2 separate regions of the Homo sapiens genome follow, and region 2 is linked to region 1. The links are contacts of gene promoters, found by promoter capture Hi-C in human tissues and cell types (Jung and others, 2019). All regions are on one chromosome and are shown on one strand. Each heading gives the region's core, a stretch centred on a gene start or on the middle of the fragment in contact. The rest is flanking DNA. Distances are from core to core; before and after follow the strand shown. Region 1 holds the start of BID (BH3 interacting domain death agonist). Region 2 overlaps PEX26 (peroxisomal biogenesis factor 26).

Region 1 (2,966 bases), core at 163-2,662:
CTGGGCGCCTGCTGACATTGTACCATGAATTTGAACACCACCCTGCAGATGACCTGGCCTCAGTCCATGAAGTTTCCCTTTCGTCTTCTGCAGGGCACCGGCCCCTAATGCCATCTGACGGTTTCCCTGCTCACAGGATCTTCCATTTGTTAGCCCCCCAGAGTGCCCAGCCCGAGTGAAGAGCATGCAGGAAACAAGCCCCTGTCCTCGTGGAGGCTACATTCCGAGAGGGGAGGTAGGCAACACACACACAAACGACTCCGTGGTATGTCATGCTGCGATGCTGGCTGTGGAGGAAAATGAAGTGAGGCCTGGTGAAAGCCAGAGGCCATGGGGCTGCCGAGGAGGAACAGGGACAGGGTAGGATTTGCTTAGAGCAGGGCAGGTCGCGTGGGACTCTGCGGGCCACTGAAAGGAACTTGGCTTTTATTCAGAGGATGTTAAAGCGTGAGTGACATCCTCTGACCTTTTATAAAAGAGGCAAGAGTCTAGGGAGCCCGGGTAGAAGTGAGGGCGTCTGGAGGAGCCACAGTGGGCTCAGGGAGTGAGCCCACGCGAGGGCGCAGAGCAACTGGACGCTCCAACAGGGCTGGTGGAAGTGCCGAACGGTGTGCATCACCTTGGAAAGCAGGCAGTTTTTAATACCATGAAGCTCGTCCAGCCCTATGATTCGCATTTCCACTCCTAGGTATCACACTCAAGAGAAGTGAAGACGCCCACAAAGGGCTCTGCAGCAGCACTGCCGGTGAGAGCTGCATCCGGGGATGCATGGACTGGCCTGTCATTCCAGCACCTTGGGAGGCCGAGGTGGGAAGCATCGCTGGAGCCCAGGAGTTCGAGACCAGCCTGAGACCTCCAGAGGTGGAGACCCCCCCCCCACCACCTCCACTAAAAACTGAAAAAGAAATTAGTTGGGTGTGGTGTGCGCCTGTAGTCCCAGCATTATCTATATGTTAAACTGATGTTTTAAATCAGAGTTGATATCCAAATAATTAAAGAATAAACAACAAGCACAGGGACTGGTGAGGGGCTGGGCCAGATTCTCTGCAACCCACATGGCTTCACCCACTTTCCAAACCCCTGGTTCCGTGAGGACCTAGAATGACCACCCCAGACTGTTCCAGAAACAGCCTGGGGATTCTGAATGTTTCCCAGAGAATCATTAGGAATTATCCCAGCGGCGCTGGAGTAAGTGGCCAACTTAAAGTTGGACGACACTGTCTGAAACAGTCGCGTAAGGGGTAAGGGTGGAAAGCCTGGTTCTCACTGCGCTGCCGGCTCCCCGCCCCGCTCCACAGCCCCGCGCCGGCGCGGGCTCCCCGGGTCCCCGCAAGCCGCCGGGGGCGGGCCGGGGCGGGCCGGGGCGGGCCCGGGCGTGGGGGGCCGAAGGAGGAAGCGCGCGGGGCGCCATAAGGAGGAAGCGGGTAGTCGACCGTGTCCGCGCGCCTGGGAGACGCTGCCTCGGCCCGGACGCGCCCGCGCCCCCGCGGCTGGAGGGTGGTGAGTGCACCCGCGCCCCTCCCGGGGTACGCGCCGAGCCCCAGCCCGTGACCCCTGCCTGCCGCCTGCCCCGGCGTGGAGCTCAGGGCCCGCCGCCCGCCCTGGGCCCGACCGCGGTGGGAGCCAGAGGAGGGGAGGCGGGGGGTCAGAGCCCCAGGCCTCAGCAGCGACCTGAGGGCCGGGTCTCTCCCGCCTCCCCTCCGCCCGGGCGCCCTCCTCGGCGCGGCCGGCAGGTCGGTGCTGAGGGTCGGGTCCGCCTCGGAGGCGGGGAAGGCTTTGTTGTGTCCTCTCCACGTGGCCTGGGGATTCAGGGGAGGGGTGCGGGGCGCGGGGAGGGGGAGGGGCCGAGGCCAGCCCCGGAGAGGAGAAAACCCGCGGGCCTGGCCGGGTGCAGGCCACCCTTGCCGGCGGATCGGAATCCCCGCCCACACCGTGGTCTTTCCAGCACCGCAGACACCTGCCGGCTCCTCCCGAGCGGAGCTCAGGGCTGACAAAGCGCGGTCAGAGCGGCCGCTTACTGGGGCTCGCCCGCTCCTTAGAGCACTGGCAATGATGTGCGGATCCTCGCTGCTGCTGCTGGGAAACTGTTGAGTGGCTGAATGACCCCAGGGGACCCTGGGAGAGCTCTGAAGCCCTCAGCCACCAAGTGGCTGGGCTGGCAAGGGTTCATTCATTCATTCAACAAATACGAATGTGCAGCGGTGCTGGGGTCATGATGGCTCGGTGGGCAGCGAGGGGCCGGGCCGGCTGGAGGAGCACAGTGCGGATTCTGTAAGTGGGCTGGGGGCTGGGCCTTCTGCGGCTGGACCGGCCTTCACCTGCAGGCAGGGTTGGGGCAGGTGAGGAGCAGATGGACCCACCCAGAGCTCTTCCACCTTCTCAGGCTTGCACCCCCTTCCTGGAGCCTTATCCACACCCTCAGTCCTCGCTCTCACTGTGGGGGAGCTGCAGAGGATGCGGTTTTTCCACATTCCATCTCCACCCACAGGAGGCTTTGAGATGGGGGGAGCTCTCCTGGGCCTGAATGTGTGCCGTCCTGGGGCCCTGCAGTCCCCTGGGAGTGATGACCGAGACCAGATTCCCTGAGCTGGGGTCTTAAGGGTGTGGGGAGCGCAGAGGGATCCTCTGGCATCAGGAGTTGAGGTAGACAGAGCTCCAGGGAGGCACTGCCGGGAGGACGACCCTGGCCAAGCCTCTGCCTGCGGCCCAGGGTGTGCGTCCCTGCCCCTTCTGCCCCTCTTGCCCAGGGAGGGAAGAGGAAATGCGGGGTCAGCAGTTCGTGGCTGGGGTTTAAAGGCAGGGATCTCCCAGGACGGGCACAGGGAGCATGAGGAAGCAGCTCGTGTCTCTGTTCATGAGATGTGAGAGTGGTGACTGAGACGAGGGGTGCAGAGACCTGCCGTGGCTGGGGCGAGGTGCTGTTAGTGCTTCTGAGGAGGTTGGGCAGGATAGACGGTGGCTGTCAG
Region 2 (2,966 bases), core at 204-2,703, 320 kb before region 1:
GATCCACCTGCCTTGGCCACCCAAAGTGGTGGGATTACGGGCATGGGCCACTGCACCTGGCCTCTAGAAGGCTGTATTATAATTACCATTAATTACATATTGTCCTTTATTGTCATCAAAATCATGCCACTTCTTTGAAAAATAAAAAAATCATCTGGGTGTGGTGGCTTATGCCTATAATCCCAGCACTTTGGGAGGTCAAGATGGGAGGATCACTTGAGGCAAGTTCAACACCAGCCTGGTCAGTGTAGTAAGACCCCATCTCTGTATTTTTTATAAGAAAAAAAAAGGAAGGAATAAAACAGAGTACATAATATACTACAGGTTTTTTTTATAAAAAGGAGAAGAAACTAGGATCTATATCCATACTGGTTTTGTATTGGTGTATTAAATTTACCTCTGGAAGAGTAAATTTAAAACTAATGGCTGTGGCCAGGCACGGTGGCTCATGCCTGTAATCCCAGCACTTTGGGAGACCGAGGCAAGTGGATCACGAGGTCAGGAGATCAAGACCATCCTGGCTAACACGGTGAGACCCCGTCTCTACTAAAAATACAAAAAATTAGCCGGGCGCGGTGGCAGGAGCCTGTAGTCCCAGCCACTTGGGAGGCTGAGGCAGGAGAATGGCGTGAACCCGGAAGGCGGAGCTTGCAGTGAGCCGAGATCACACCCCTGCACTCCAGCCTGGGCGACAGAGTGAGGCTCTGTCTCAAAAAAAAGAAAAAAAAAAAAAACTAACGGCCATAGCTGCCATTGGGGTAGGTGAACTTGCTAAATGAAGAGATGGGAGGTGATATGGTTTGGCTCTGTGTCCCCACTCAAATCTCATCTCAAACTGTAATCCCCACGTCGGAGGAGGGACCTGGTGGGAGGTGACTGGATCACAGGAACAGTTTCTCCCCTGTTGTTCTTGTGATAGTGAGTCAGTTCTCACGAGTTCTGATGGTTTTAAAGTGTGGCATCCCCCCTCATTCTCTCTGCTGCTGCCATGTAAGATGTGCCTTGCTTCCCCTTTGCCTTCCACTATGACTGCTTGTTTCCTGAGGCCTCACAGCCATGCAGAACTGTGAGTCAGTTAAACCTCTTTTCTTCAACAATTACCCAGTCTCTGATACTTCTCTAAAGCAGTGTGAAAATGGACTAATACAGACTGCTTTCACACTAGACTTTTTCAAGCCTTTTCAAAAACCCTATGAATGTATTGCATATTTAGAAAATTAAACATGGTCTGAAATGAATATATAAAAAGGCTTAGCACTTTAAGAAATCAGAGCCGGCCGGGCGTGGTGGCTCACGCCTGTAATCCCAGCACTTTGGGAGGCCGAGGTGGGCAGATCACAAGGTCAGGAGATCGAGACCATCCTGGCTAACACGGTGAAACCCCATCTCTACTAAAAATACAAAAAATTAGCCGGGTGTGGTGGCGGGCGCCTGTAGTCCCAGCTATTCGGGAGGCTGAGGCAGAAGAATGGCATGAACCTGGGAGGCAGAGCTTGCAGTGAGCTGAGATCGTGCCACTGCACTCCAGCCTGGGCGACAGAGCGAGACTCCATCTCAAAAAAAAAAAAAAAATTCAGAGCCATTTGCAAAGCCTAGTTCCTAGGCTAAGAACAGGAATCAGAAGTGCTGCCTTTTCTGTGGTCTGATGTTCACAAGATGCTGGGTTCTACCACTCCAACTCTCCCCTCCTTACCTCACTTAATTAAGAGCAACAGTAATAATAACTAGCACCTGCTCACTACATGCTATGCACCTTTTCAGTGTTTTACATGGATTAGCACCAGTTAATCCTCACAACAAACCTATGAAGTAACTGAGGCACAGGAAAGATTATTTGAAGGTCAAAGCAGGTGAGTCAAGATACAAACTCAGGCCGGGTGTGGTGGCTCATGCCTGTATTCCCAACACTTTGGGAGGTGAGGCATGCAGATCACTTGAGGTCAAGAGTTCAAGACCAGCCTGGCCAACATGGTAAAACCCCGTCTCTACTAAAAATTCAAAAATTAGCCAGGCGTGGTAGTGTGTGCCTGTAGTTCCAGCTACTCGGAAGGCTGAGGCAAGAGAATCGCTTGAACCTAGGAAGTGGATGTTGCAGTGTGTCGAGATCATGCCACTGCCCTCCAGCTTGGACGACAGAGTGAGACTCTGTCTCAAAAAAAAAAGATACAAACTTGGGCATTATGGGTCTGGGACCCACACTCTTAACCACAATCCCATGATGTCTCTCATTTACGCAGCAAATTACTCCATTGGGGTTAGGCCTTGTTTCTCAAAAAAAAAAAAAAAAAGGCTTTTGCAAAATATGTTTCCTGGGAGGATTAATAGAGCACATCTTTTAGCCATTGTCTTTAGCACCTCTGAAAACAAGCACTTGTCACCATGGAGACCATGAAATCCAGGAACAGGACAGAACACAAACAAGTACTAAAAGGGGAGTGGGAAGCATTCCCAGAATGTTCCAGAGCAGGGGGTGCCCGCCGGACAGAGATGTCAGAGCCCACAGAGGGACTGGGAATGGGTAGGATGTCTCTGGTGGGGCGACCAAAAAATTTTACCAGCTCCCCAGCTTTCCAGAGAAAGCAGCCCATTCTTTGAGACCCAGCTAAGTCCACTGGTAACCAAGAGCATGGCTTATCTGTGTGAGTCATCCAATGAAACTACCAGCTTGTATTTATACCTACCCAGGAGGACACCCGCCAGGCTTTGTCATTGCTGGTACATCTGAGAAGAACACCTCCTGCTCTTTCTCTGGAGGGAGCTGGGCGACGATACTACTAAACAGATGCCAAAGCACAGAGCCCTCCCCTGCCCCACCTCCACCCTTCAGCCCTGGTGCGGGTCTTATTGCTCACCAACTCTTGCTGCTTCTATTTCTTCCTTCCCTAATTCCTAAGGCCAAAATCCAAGTTCATTCAACAAATCTTTATTACTTGGCCTCTTACATGGATGGCCTCATTCCAGGTGCT

Evidence for each region. Contacts are between HindIII fragments. The study calls those that stand out against the background at their distance.
Region 2: a fragment that was not itself captured here is called in contact with the fragment with the promoter of BID in region 1 in 2 of the 25 tissues and cell types used here (IMR-90 fibroblasts and dorsolateral prefrontal cortex).

Annotation. Positions count from the first base shown.
Region 1 is chr22:17,772,915-17,775,880 of GRCh38, reverse strand. It overlaps BID (BH3 interacting domain death agonist), which reads left to right and starts at 1,412. Exons shown (of 6, transcript NM_001196.4): 1 at 1,412-1,500. RefSeq lists silencers at 1,284-1,383, 1,404-1,453, 1,474-1,543, 1,574-1,903. The HindIII fragment of the contact is 15,001 bases long and covers 1-2,966 here.
Region 2 is chr22:18,095,027-18,097,992 of GRCh38, reverse strand. It overlaps PEX26 (peroxisomal biogenesis factor 26), which reads right to left. Exons shown (of 5, transcript NM_001127649.3): 5 at 1-2,966. Among named protein-coding and RNA genes, the nearest start is that of TUBA8, 14 kb to the left of the region's middle. The HindIII fragment of the contact is 8,441 bases long and covers 1-2,966 here.